3 separate regions of the Homo sapiens genome follow, and regions 1 and 2 are each linked to region 3. The links are contacts of gene promoters, found by promoter capture Hi-C in blood cells and fetal thymus (Javierre and others, 2016). All regions are on one chromosome and are shown on one strand. Each heading gives the region's core, a stretch centred on a gene start or on the middle of the fragment in contact. The rest is flanking DNA. Distances are from core to core; before and after follow the strand shown. Region 1 overlaps RALBP1 (ralA binding protein 1). Region 2 overlaps TWSG1 (twisted gastrulation BMP signaling modulator 1). Region 3 holds the start of MTCL1 (microtubule crosslinking factor 1).

The links. Contacts are between HindIII fragments. The CHiCAGO score rates a contact against its expected background, and 5 or more counts as called.
Region 1: a fragment that was not itself captured here is called in contact with the fragment with the promoter of MTCL1 in region 3 in 1 of 17 cell types (activated CD4 T cells); the score reaches 5.8 in activated CD4 T cells.
Region 2: a contact is called between a fragment that was not itself captured here and the fragment with the promoter of MTCL1 in region 3, in 2 of 17 cell types (activated CD4 T cells and non-activated CD4 T cells). The highest score is 6.5, in activated CD4 T cells.

The regions. Positions count from the first base shown.
Region 1 is chr18:9,491,898-9,496,344 of GRCh38, reverse strand. All of the region lies in intron 1 of RALBP1 (ralA binding protein 1), which reads right to left. Among named protein-coding and RNA genes, the nearest start is that of RALBP1, 19 kb to the right of the region's middle. The HindIII fragment of the contact is 961 bases long and covers 2,553-3,513 here.
Region 2 is chr18:9,339,205-9,343,589 of GRCh38, reverse strand. The region is part of intron 2 of TWSG1 (twisted gastrulation BMP signaling modulator 1); the gene reads right to left. Among named protein-coding and RNA genes, the nearest start is that of TWSG1, 6.6 kb to the right of the region's middle. The HindIII fragment of the contact is 3,572 bases long and covers 749-4,320 here.
Region 3 is chr18:8,703,144-8,707,535 of GRCh38, reverse strand. MTCL1 (microtubule crosslinking factor 1) reads right to left here and starts at 1,980. Exons shown (of 15, transcript NM_001395333.1): 1 at 823-1,980. The coding sequence starts at 1,875. GACAT2 (gastric cancer associated transcript 2) reads left to right here. Exons shown (of 2, transcript NR_120598.1): 1 at 1-466. RefSeq lists silencers at 1,756-1,815, 2,196-2,635. The HindIII fragment of the contact is 5,801 bases long and covers 1-4,364 here.

The DNA of each region.
Region 1 (4,447 bases), core at 1,784-4,283, 790 kb before region 3:
ACATAGCCCCAGGAGGTCCTGAGAAATGTGCCCAAGGTGGTTGTTTTACAGCTTGATTTTATGTATTTCAGGGGGACAGAAGTTAAAGGCAGACATCAATCAATACATGTAAAGTGTATCCTGGTTCGGCTGGAAATAAAGCACAACTTGAAGCCAGGGCTACCAGGTCACAGGTGGATTCAGAGATTATCTGATTGGCAACTGGTTGAAAGAGTTGTTATTATCTAAAGATCTAGACTCAATAGAAAGGAGCATCTGAGTTCAGATAAGGGGTTGTGGAGACCAAGATTTTTATCATGCAGATGAAACCTCCAGGTAGCCGGTTTCAGAGCTCTTATCAGACATAAAAAGATGCCAGACTCTAGTTAATTTGCTTCTAGATCAGGAAAAAGATCTGGAAAGGGAAGGGGATTCTCTAGAAAATGCAGATTTTCCCCACAAGAGACAGCTTTGCAGGGCTATTTCAAAATATGTCCAATAAATATATTTTGAGGTGAAATACCTTGATTTCTTTCAGGGCCTGCCATCTGTCATGTGATGTTATACTAGAGTCAGATTGGAATTTGGTATCTTATTGCTACAAAGTCTGTTTTGTCAGTCTTAAGATCTCTGTTTTAATGTTAATGCTGGTCAGTTATGTCTGAATTCCAAGGGGAGGAAGGTATAATGATGCATGCCCAACCTCCCATTCCCTTCATGGCCTGAACTAGTTTTTCAGGTTTAGTTTGAAACTCCCTTAACCTAGAGGGGGGTCCATCAGTCAGTTGGGGGGCTTAGAATTTTATTTTTTGTTTACACCACTTTATAGATAAATAAAAATGGATACTGGCAATGATCATCAACGGCTGCTAATAACACCAAAAAAAGAGAGCAAGAGATAGAAAGAGAAGAGCTCCTTGATGGATGCACACACTATCCCTGAAAAATAAACAAACAAAACAATCTGATTATGTAGAAAATCAGTTTTTTCTCTGCTCTTATACCATGATATATAGGGGTTTACTCCACCAAGCAAGCAATCAACTTTGCAGTGGACACCAGCTGGGTGTTCTCCAATTTAATTCTGACACCATCCGTAGCATCAGATTCCACAGGTTGACGGCTCAGTCCCCAAGGCTGCCCGCCTCCAACTTCTGACGCCAATTGCAAGCCCTAGGCTGTTTTACCTGTGCTTCCGTCAGAGATATTTGAACCAGAGCAACTCCATCTTGAATAGGGGCTGGGTAAAATAAGGCTGAGATTAACTGGGCTGCATTCTCAGGAGGTTAGGCATCCTTAATCACAGGATGAGATTGGAGGTCAACACAAGATATGGGTCACAAAGACCTTGCTGATAAAACAGGATGTGGTTAAGAAGCCGGCCAGATCCCACCGAAACTAAGATGGTTATGAAAGTGACCTCTGCTCATCCTCACTGCTCACTATAGGCTAACTGTAATGCATTAGCACGCTAAAAGACACTCCCACCAGCATCATGACAGTTTACAAATGCCATGGCAACATCAGGAAGTTACCCTATATGGTCGAAAAAGGGGATGAACCCTCAGTTTCAGGAATTACCCATTCCTTTTCTGGAAAATTCATGAATAATCTAACCGTTCTTTAGCACATAATCAGGAAATAACTATAAGTATATTCAGTCGAGCAGCCCATGCTGCTGCTCTGCCTATGGAGTAGCGATTCATTTCTTTCTTTACTTTCTTAATAAACTAATGCTTTCACTTTAAGGACTCTCCTCAAATTCCTTCTTGGGTGAGGTCTAAAAACCCTATCCTGGGTTCTGATCAGGACATCTTTCCAGTAACACTTCTGATGGGACCAGCTATAAATCATGGTTCCCATGACCCCTGCCTTGGGTTTGATTAATTTCCTAGAGCAGCTCACAGAACCTAGGAATACACTTAGGTTTACACTTATGTTCAGTTTATTATAAAGGATACACAAAGGGTATAGATGAAGAGATGCACAGGGCAAGGCATGTAGGAAGGAGTGCAGAGCTTCCGTGCCCTCTCTGGCTACACTAACCTCCAGGAACTTCTACCTGTTCTGCAATCAAAAAGCTCTCGGAACCCCATCTTCTTAAATTTTTGATGGAGACTTCATTGGATAGGCATGTTGAAGTATGGACAAACATGCAGAAATGCGACTGAACAAAAAGGGTATAATCTAATACTAATAGATTGAGTGGGGAAACCCAGTAAGGCCTGTTTTGTTCAGATTCTTCTTGGCCTCTCTGTGCAGCATTGCTTCCTCCATGGTATGGGACAAGATCCATTTTGAAATGGGGGTCTTATGACCTAAAATCAGACAATGTAAGTCAGAGAATTCCTTTATGGCCAGCTTGTGGACAGAAAGCCGGGGGAAGATTAGAGCATGTTTTTAGTTTCTATGGCCTGCCTTGGGGAGAAAAATGAGCAAGTGAACAAAGACCAGGAGAAGGCCAGAGAGAGAGAGATCTGTCTTCTGAGGCCTACTTCTGAGATCTAAAGTACTCCAACATTATAACAAAAGACTGTCTTTCACCTTTATTGCTCAGAAGCTGTTTCAAAGCTTCTTCAGGAACCAAAGACAAAAGGCAAAATACTTTAACAAAAGATATGCTTATTGTTTAAGTCACTTAAGAAATAACAGGGGCTATGGGAGTTATGAGCCAGGAATTCTGGATGAAAACATATATGGACAGATAGATAAACAGATAGATCTATATATCTCATATCACACAGATCAAGCTGCAAAATCTATAGGATATACAATTTAGTTTCTTTAGTTAATGCTCTGGAAAAAAAAAAGAGAGGGAGGGTGAACATAAAAATTAAGAGTCTTAAGACTGAAAGATTGAAAAGACAAGCCACATTGAAATAAAATACTTATAGAAAATATATCCAATAAAGTACTATTACCCAAAAATATACACAGAACTCTTTAGGCCAGGTGCGGTGGCTCATGCCTGTAATCCCAGCACTTTGGGAGGCCAAGGCAGGCGGATCACCTGAAGTCAGGAGTTCGAGACCAGCCTGGCCAACATGAAAATCCCGTCTCTACTAAAAACACAAAAATTAGCCGAGAATGGTGGCAGGCGCCTGTAATCCCAGCTAATCGGGAGGCTGAGGCAGGAGAATCGCTTGAACCTGGGAGGCAGAGGTTGCAGTGAGCCAAGATAGTGCCATTGCACTCCAGCCTGGGGGAATTTTGTCTCAAAAAAAAAAAAAAAAAAAAAAAACTCTTTAAACTAAACAGTAAGAAAACAATTCATTTTGTTTAAATGGGCAAAAGACCTGAACAGGCACCTCACCAAAGATATGTAAATGGAAAATAAGCACATGAGAAGATGCTCAGCATGCTATATCATTGGAGAACTACCAATTAAAACAATGTGATACTACCACATACCATTATTATGGCAAAACCCAAAATGCTACCACCACCAAATGCTGGCAAGGATATAGAGCAACAGGAACTTTTATCCATGGCTGATAGGAATGCAATATGGCACAGCCACTTTGGAAGAAAGCTTGGCAGTTTCTTACAAAACTAAACATACTCTTCCTATATGATCCATCAATCGCACTCCTTGGTATTTACCCAAATGAATTGAGAACTTATGTACATGCAAAAACCGGCACATAGATGTTTATAGCAGGTATATTATAAATCCCCCCAAAAAAGGCAGCAATGGATAAACTGTGGTATATCCAGATAATGGAATATTATTTAGTGCTAAAAAGAGATGAGCTATCAAGTCATGAAAAGATACAGAGGAAATGTAAATGCATATTACTAAGTAAAAGAAGTTGAGCACAGTGGCTGACAACTGCGATCCCAGCACTTTTGGAGACCAAGGTGGGCGGACTGCTTAAGCACAGCAGTCAGAGAACAGCCTGGGCAACATGGCAAAACCTCATCTCTACCCAAAAAAAAAAAAGAAAAAATTAGCTGGGTGTGGTGGTGCACACCTGTAGTCCCAGCTACTTGGGAGGCTGAGATGGGAGGATCACCTGAGCCTAGCAGGTAGAGGCTCAGCAGTGAGCTGAGATCCCAGCGCTTCACCCCAACCTGCACGACAAAGCAAGACCTTGTCTCAAAAAAAAAGACGTTAATTAAAAAGGCCATATGACATTCTGCAAAAAGCAAAACTATAGAGACAGTAGAAGGATTAGTAGTAGCCAGGGTTTAGGGAGGAGGAAGAAATGAATAGGTGGAACACAGAGGATTGTTGGGGCAGTGAAGCTATTCTGTATTGGTACTTTAGTGGTGGACACATGTTCATTATTCATTTGTCTAAACACACGGAATGTACAGCATACCAGGAGCGAACTCTAACACAAACGCAGCTTTAAAAATAAAGTCTATTTTTGTAAAAGGTTAAGAAACACAAAAATACTACAAAAAAATGACACATTACCTTGAAAAAAAAGAAAGACTTAAAAGACATCAACCAATTGCCATG
Region 2 (4,385 bases), core at 1,285-3,784, 640 kb before region 3:
AGAGAATAGGAAATGACTTCTAAAGGGTATGGAGTTCCCTTCTAAAGTAATGAAAATGTTCTGAAATTAGATTGTGGTGATGGTTGCACAAGTCTGTCGATATGCCAAAACCACTCAATTGTACCCTTAAATGGGTAAATTTTATAATATATGAATCATATATCTCAATAAAACTGTTTTTTAAAAAAAATCTAACAGAGAATCCATCTTAGATTTATACTAATAAGAGTTCCAGAAAGAAAAGAGGACACTATACATAATTATATATTATACAAAAATATAGTTATATAAAACGTATATATTATATATGTATGTATGTTAGGACAAGATATATATATATATATATATATATATATATATATATATATATATATATATAACAAAAAACAAAACAGGGCATTTCCTAGTCTTTGGCTCAAAACTGATCCCCAAAAGACTCACAAGATACCAAACAGAATGAATGAAAAGACCAACACTAGACTCAACAGTTTAAATTCCATAATATGAAGGCTAATGAGATGATACTAAAAGTTTCTAGAGAGAATAACAAAGTTACCTATAGAGAATAAGAAACAGACTGGCATCAGACTTCTTATTGGCAATATGGAATGCTATTAGATAATAGAGAAATGTCTCCAAAGTTCTGAGGGAAAAGAATTTAACATAGAATTCTGTATTCAGGCAAACCATCAGTCAGGTGAAAGGTGAGAATAAATACATCTTCAAGACATGCAGGACCCAGAAAGCTTACTTTCCACACAGGCTTTCTTAGGAAGTTACTTGAGGGCATGTTGGGACAAAATAAGGGTTACTGTTAAAAACAACAAGATACGAAATCCAAGAAACACTGGAACCAACTTGGGAAAGTAATGATGGAAAGTCACCATAAGACAGCTTGCATCAGACCTAGATTGCAATCAGTTAAGTCTGGAAACATCAAGACTGAAGGCTCCATTTGGGAGGAAAAATACATTAAGTACTTAAAACAATATAAGGTGCTAATGATTGATGATACAAGGTAAAGAAAGATAATTAGAAACTCAAGAAAAACAAAATCATTCAAGAAGGGAAATGTAATCATAGTACCTATGTGACTACAGTCAACAGTCAACAATATTTATATAATCATTACAATATAAACATGGTTTATTGCCAGTTTTAGAATATACCTGTAAATAAAGCATTAGAAGATTCAAATAGAGTTACAAAACAGAGAAATAAGGTTAGTAATTACCTATAGTGCACTCACGTGCCAGGCATTGCTCTAAATACTTTACACCTAATCCTCACAATACTCGCACAGTATGGTTATTATCCCTGCTTTACAGATGAGGAAATTGAGGCATTGAGAGATTAACTAACTTGCCCAAGGTCATACAACCAGTAAGTGGCAGAACTGGATCCAAATTCAGATAGCCTGGTTCCAGAGTTCATACGCTTAACCATTATACTATGCAGCCTCTCAGAATGTAGATGTTATCAACCTTGACAATATAAAAGTAAAAGTACAGGTAACACTCCGTTCCCCACAGATTTTGATGCAGCCCATCAGAATTCCAAAAGTAGCCCATCAGAATGCCAAAAGTAGAAAATTTCAAGGGCAGTACTCATAAATGCAAGGGAAAAAACTGATTTCTTTGCTTTCTATGATGTTAAACATGGTAGCTTCACATGATCTCCCAAGACTGGAACCCAAACAAACCCTCTCTTCAATTCCCTCAAGAAATGCACTGTTCTTAAAACTCACTTATAGTCTGTCTCATTGCTAAAAAAAAAAAATAATAAAATAAAATAAACTTTAAAAGGAAAGGACTATTAATATTCTCCACTTACATCAGGAATAAAGAGATAGTGTCTCCAGTTGATAGAACAGAATAGAAAACCTTAAATATATTGAAGAAATTGAAAAAATAACCAAGAGATAAACTCAAAACTGTGATACAAGTGTGGCAGGGCAGGAGTGGGAAGGATGACATGATGAGCTATGACCTTATCTGTTATAGCAGAAAGGCAATTTTAGATATATAACATCTAAAACTGATGAATCAAGAAATAGTAGTACAAGCATATTATTTAGGCATATGGCTAAAAATTACTAACAGAAGTAAAAATATAAGAGTTAGATTAAAAGCGGTTTTCCCAGGGTAATAGAATGAGTAGGGAGAATTAGATCAAGAGATTCAATTTTTCACTATGTAGCCTTCTAATAATTTAATAATTTATTACTCTGATGAAAAAAAGAGAACATTTGACACATACTAGTTGGTTTCTTTCTTTAAAACTGCCTAGAACTAGAAGAAAATTTTGAGCTCACCTAGCCAGCCAATTCACTTTACAGTTTATATGTGGCAGAGTGTATTTTCCACAGATGGCCACACCATTATATCCCATCCACATGTTCAGCTTACAACATGACACTGTCACTCCTCCAACAGAGGTGGGGCCTATGTTCCCTCCACTTAAATCCAGGTGGACCTGCAGGAGAGATCATATAGCAGGATCACAGAGACACACACATATATACACAGAGAGAGTGAAAGGGAGAGAGGGAGGGAGATGGGGATAGAGAAGGGAGGAAGGGGAGGAGAAGTCAGGAAGAGACGTATACCTGAAGAATCTTCCCAGCCCAGGTATTAGACTTTATCAGTGAGCCTTCAGATTTTCAATGTCCAATACGTGGCCACTAGTCATATGCAGCTATGCAGCTAATGAAATTGAAATTGAATTAAATTTAAAATCAGATTTTCAGCCATACTAGTCACATTTCAAGTACTTGGTAGCCACGTATGGCTAGATTCTACTGTATTGCACAGGGTAGATGTAGATCTTTTCCATCATCGCAGAAAGCTCTATCTATAGTGCTGTTTCAGATAATTCCACCCCCACCACCTTCAAGCCGCCTTGCTAATGCCACGTGGAACAGAGATGAACTCTTCCGCAGAGCCCTGCTCAGAATGCAAATTCGTGAGCAAAATAAATGCTGTTTCCAGCCACTGGTTTTTGGGGTGGTTTGCCACACAGCCATAGTAAGAGGAACACATGGAAACTAAAGATCAGAATGTGAAATAATCTGCTAGAGTTTGGGAGTCCACAAAACTAGGTGAAGAGTGGAACTAATCACATTTCATTTCAACACTCAATAAATGTTTGTGAATAAACAAACAAGAAAATCCTCAATATTTGAGCCCTAGATCTTTTCTTTTTTTTTTTTTTTTTTTTTTTGAAATGGAGTCTTGCTCTGTCGCCCAGGCTGGAGTGCAGTGGCATGATCTTGGCTCACTGCAAGCTCCGCCTCCTGGGTTCACGCCATTCTCCTGCCTCAGCCTCCCGAGTAGCTGGGACTACAGGCGCCCATCACCACGCCTGGCTAATTTTTCGTATTTTTAGTAGAGACGGGGTTTCACCATGTTAGCCAGGATGGTCTTGATCTCCTGACCTTGTGATCCGCCCGCCTCGGCCTTCTGAAGTGCTGGGATTACAGGCTTGAGCCACCGCGCCCGGCCCAGCCCTAGATCTTTTCTAAATCCAAGTAGTCTACCATCCACCAGGATAGTTGTGTCCACTACTCCAGAAAAAAGTTTGATGTTTCCTGGCTCTGAAGCTACAACGGAATATCAGAAATGTCAGCATCCATGAATTTGTGACTGAAAATACGTCCTAGCTGATTTTGTTTACTAGAATCACCATTTGAGTTAGGTGAAGCTCCATTTGCTTTTCCAGTTTTTTTACACTGATATAGTACTCTTTACATTTTGAAGTATTTTGTTTTTTTACAATTTTTTTTTTTGAGACAGAGTCTTGCTCTGTCGCCCAGGTGGGAGTGCAGTCGCACGATCTCAGCTCACTGCAACCTCCGCCTCCTGGGTTCAAGTGATTCTCCTGCCTCAGCCTCCCAAGTAGCTGGGATTACAAGCATGCACCGCCATGCTCAGCTAATTTTTGTAATTGTAATTTTTTAAATTTTTTTAATGGCCAGGCACGGTGACTCACACCTGTAATCCCAGCACTTGGGAGGCCGAGGTGGCAGATTGCTTGAGCTCAGAAGGTTGAGACCAGCCTTGGCAGATCGCTTGAGCTCAGAAGTTTGAGACCAGCCTTGGCAACATGGCAAAACCCTGTCTCTACCAAAAATACAAAGTAAATTAGCCAGGCATGGTGCCACGTGCCTGTAGTCCCAGCTACACCAGAGGCTGAGATGGGAGGATCGCTGGAGCCTGGGAAGTCAAGGCTGTAGTAAGCTGTAATAGAGCCAAAAAATTTTTAAAGAGTCAAACAAACAAAAAAACCTTTACAAGTATCTACCCATATTAATCAAAAGCTTTCTCTTTTAAATACTCCCTTTAAAAGCAAGGTATTTTAAATAAAGTACAATTTTTTTTTTTTTT
Region 3 (4,392 bases), core at 731-3,230:
TGCAGCACCAGGCCCCCTCCGTGGAGAAAAGATGGAGCCGGATTAAGCACCCAGTGCTAAGGCGACTAAGACGCCACTGCCCGCAGGCCCTGCCGGAAAATACTCAGAGAGTGCAGCAGGCGCCGCGATTCCTTAGAAAGTGCTGGCGTGGCCTCTCCTGACACAGAAAGCCGGCTCCTGGATGCTTACAAAGGACTGGCCCGCGCAACACCGTTGCTCCTCAACCCGGGCCACACTCCAAGGACCTCTACTGAGCTTCAGCTTGCTCACCGAAAACGGCGCGGCCCCCTCTACCCGGGATGTCGGAGCCCAGGAGACCCTGAGAGCCCCCAGCTCTTTCCGTAATTGCAGGAGAAGGGGCAAGCGGGTCCGTAGCCGGGGGCCCTCCAGTGGCATTATCCTGAACCGCCACGCCCGCACGTGGCCCGGCTAGAGCTCCCTGGCGAAGGATCACCTGTTCCTACAGGTGAGGCTGGCACGTTCTGAGCGGGGATGGGGGCGTCCGCTGATGTCCCCAAAACGATTACAGCCTCCTCTGCCCCAACAGGTCAACAAAAGTAAAAGTATCAGCGAAGAGACGCAAGAGTTCTAGACGCGAGAAAAGAGAAGTGGGTTGCGAACTGGCGGGGTCCCACAGGTCTTGCTTCTCCTTCCAGAAGTTTGGGCTTAAGTTGCCAATGCCTGACAATGCGGGGGTAGGACCGTGGAGAGCAGGAGGGAGAAGGCGCTGGACAGGCCCGGGAAGGAGGGGTTGGCGGGTCCCCGCCGCAGCCAGGCCCTCCGGGGGCGCCCCGGGACACCTGCGGCCGAGGCGCGGCTCACCTTGAGATAGTCGTTCTCCGAGCGCAGCTCCTCCATCTCCCGCAGCAGCTCTTCTTCCTCCGCCGCTGGCACGAGCCGAGACTGCTCGCCCAGGCTGGGCTCCTTGGGGGTCCCGGGGACTGGTCGCTCCGGTGGCGAGCGCCCCCGGACATCCTCCGCCACGCCGGGCCCCGCGAAACCCCCCGAAACCCCGCTCGGGATGCTCCGGCCCCCGGGACAGGCGCCCGCGGCGAGGGGCGCGGCGAGGAGCGCTGGGGGCTCGGGGCTGCCCGGCGGCGCTCCTCGGGCTGCGGGGCTCGGCGTCGGCGCTCCTCGTGGGGGTTCACGGTCGCTGGAGCCCGTGCCGGATTCGGCGTCGCTGCTGGCGGCAGGGAGCAGGCGCTGCTCGTCGGACAGGGGTTCGGAGGGGCAGTCAGAGAGGTCGGAGCTGCTGTCCGTGTGGCTGATGCGCGAGCAGCGGGCCGGGGACCCGGCCACCGAGGTCACCGCGAGGGTCACGGCAGGGATCCGGGCGGCCGGGGTCGGGGGGCCGACGGTGCGGGCGGGTGGCGCCCGGGAGCCGCGCTTGGCTTTGCGGCCCTTGGCAGCGGCAGACGGCGGCTCGGCTCCGGGAGGCTTCCCAGCCCGGGACAGCGGCTCCGCGGGCGCCACGCGCGCCGCCCTCCTGCTTCCCAGGGCAGCCTTGGCACCGCCCGCCGCTCTGGCCCCGGCGCCCGGCGGGGGCTTGTCCTTCGCGCCCGGGACGCCGCCACTGCGCCGAGAGAGGCGGCCGGGCGCGGCCAGGGACCCCGGCGAGGGCGGCGCTTTGCCCGCGAGGTTGGGCGAGCGCGGGGCGGCGGGAGCCGGGGCTCGGCCCGAGGAGGGGACGGCCGGGCCGGGCGCGGCGGGCCGGGCGTGCAGGTCCTTGAGGAAGGGTCTGGCGGGCGAGGGCGCACGGTGCAGCCGCCGCCTTTCGGCCACCGGGTGGAGGTGGTGGTGGCGGTGGTGCTGGCCGGGCGGCTGCAGCTTCGCGTCCGGGGCACCTCCGCCCGCGGGGCCGTTCAGTGTCTCCATGGCCGGGTCCGCCGGCAGCAGCTCAGGCAGCAGATGCTCCGGACGACGACGGCGGCGGCGGCGGCGGCGGCGGCGTGCAGCCTCCCCGCGCGCTCTCTCATCACTGTCCCAGCCCCGCCCGGGCTGCGCCCCGCGCTCCCGCCGTCCCCGCCCCCCGCACCCCGGCCCCGAGGATTCCCGCGGGGCTCGCCGCCGCCGCGCTCGCCCCTCGCTGAGGTCACCGCGGATCGAGTTCTCCCGGCTCAGCAGCGCGGCGGCTCCCGGCCGCTCGCATCCCCGGACCTCGCGCTCCGGGCTCGCGGTCACCGGTGCCGCGGCGGCGCTGGCGGCGCGCGCCCGGCTCCCGCGTCCCGCTCCCCGCCCACCGCCGGCCCGCTGCTGCCCGTGCCCGCCCCCGCCGCTCCCGGCTGAGAGAAGCCGCACGCGCGCGCCCCACCTCCCCGCCGCCCAGCGCCCTCGCCCAGGCCCGTGCGCATGCCCCGCCTCCAGCCAGCCGGCGCCGTGCAGGGGAGGGGCGAGGGAAGGGGCGGGGGCTTGCGCTCCCCGGGGGGCGGGCGCCCGGCAGGGGCGGGACCTGCGCGCCCTTGGGAGCAGGCGCAGGCTGGATCCATGGGGCCTCGCTGCCCGGGGACCCTCCTTGCTTTTTGAGGCCCTAGAGACGCTGCCAGGAGCTAGGGAGGAAGGGAAGAGGCGGAGGTGAAGTGGTGGCAAGGGGCGGCGCCGGCCACTTGGGGAAGGCGTGTGCCGCGGCTGACAACACCCCTCTCATGCCTCTCCATCCACCGCCCGCCTCCCCGAGGCCAGTCACCTCCCTCGCTGTCCTCTCCAAGCTGTGCCCCTGGTCCCCGAGCTCCTTTAAGGATCGCTGGTACCCGACGCAGCTCTCGCGTCTAAACGGCACGGCGGGCGCTCCACAGTTGGCACCCCCGTGGCCTCGGGAGCTCAGGAGGAGCTGCTGCCCAAACAGGAGGAGCCCTCGCCAAACCTGGGGGTCAGAAAGGGAACTCACATTTATAGTTCCGGCTGCGAGCCAGGCCTGCTGGCCACTTACTGAGCAGTGTTTTATTTAAGCCTCACCACAGTCCCAGATTGGAATTGCTGTCTTCGGTGAAGACTAGGGCACCGGCGCTGGGAGGTGAAGTCACTTGCCTGCGATGCCTCACCCAGTCCCTAGCTGAGCGGGTTTAAACCCAGGTCTTCAGGATTCCGAGTCCTGCAGGCTTTCCGCTCAGAGCCCGGAGCCCGGCCACCGGTTCTACCACTTGAGTCTCCCATGCGCAAGGCACTAGACCTTTCTGAGCCCCAGTTCCCTCGCCTGTATCATTAAAACGTACTGCCACCTGAGCATGTGTGAAGATTTAGCAAATACCAGAACACACCGTGCAAACTGTAAAGTACAGTTCACATACCATTGGGTGCAGTTTATGTCCCAGGCGTTGGATGTTGGCCAGTGCCCATAGGAATAGGGGCCAGCCTGTCCTCCAGCCCTGGCGTTGCAGGAGGCAGAGGGTCAGGTAATAATTACAAGGAGGAGGGCGGGAGCATAACCCTGCCTGGTGAGGCTCGCATTTTCCTGGAAGGACGGGTTGGTCTCTCAGCTGAGGGCCCAGGACACAGTAGAGCCTGCAGAGAGCAGGGCCCCTGGGCGGGGAGGCAGGTAGGTTAGGGATTAGAGGGGAGACTGGAGGGTGTGTGGCACCAAATATCCTACCAAGGCCGTTGGGCATTATCCTAGAGGCGGTAGCCACGGGGTATTCTGAGCAAGATGATCTGATGTGCTCAAAAAGACCCCGGGGGCAGCAACCTGGAGGAGAGGGAGGTGGGCCACGGGAGCTGCGAGCGGCTGTGGCAGTATGCGCGGTGAGGGGGCCTTGGGAGCAGGGACAGAGAAGAGGGGGCCGACTCGCAAAAATAGGAGGAAAAAATCGACTCCAAAGTCTGTGATCTTAACCACAGATTTACCCTACTTAGCCATCTCCTTCAAAAAATGCAGGATGAACCCTTTTGTTGTAATCCCTACGTCAGGAGAGCCCTGCCCCGAAGTCGTCCTGCCTCGCCCTGGCTGAGCTCTGGGGGCACTGAGACCTCGCCTGCTCTGCTGCTGTTGTGGTCTTTGTGAGTCGTTTTTCTGGGAATGCCTCTGAATGGGAGACAGCACGCACGAAATCCAATCTCTACGAAATCCAATTCCTTAATCTCCTTTGAGGCTAATGCCCTAGCCGTTTCTCCAGCGTTGGGAGAAGGACACTGTTGGCTCCACGGTGGGCGTGGATGACGGCACACCTCGAAAGGCTTGAGAGGTGTTGGCCACCGCTCGCGCCGGGCCTGCTGTCCCCAGAGGGCCCTCTAGCTCTGCCCTTCCGTGGGAGGGGGCCCGCGGTCGGGCCAGAGCACAACTGACCTCTGCCTAGAACTTCCTCCAGAGGCTCTGAAGCCTCCCACACCCTCACATTTCCGAAGAATTATGGCCAGGACTCTCAGCACAAGCTTGCCAGCTTCTCATACCATATACACTCA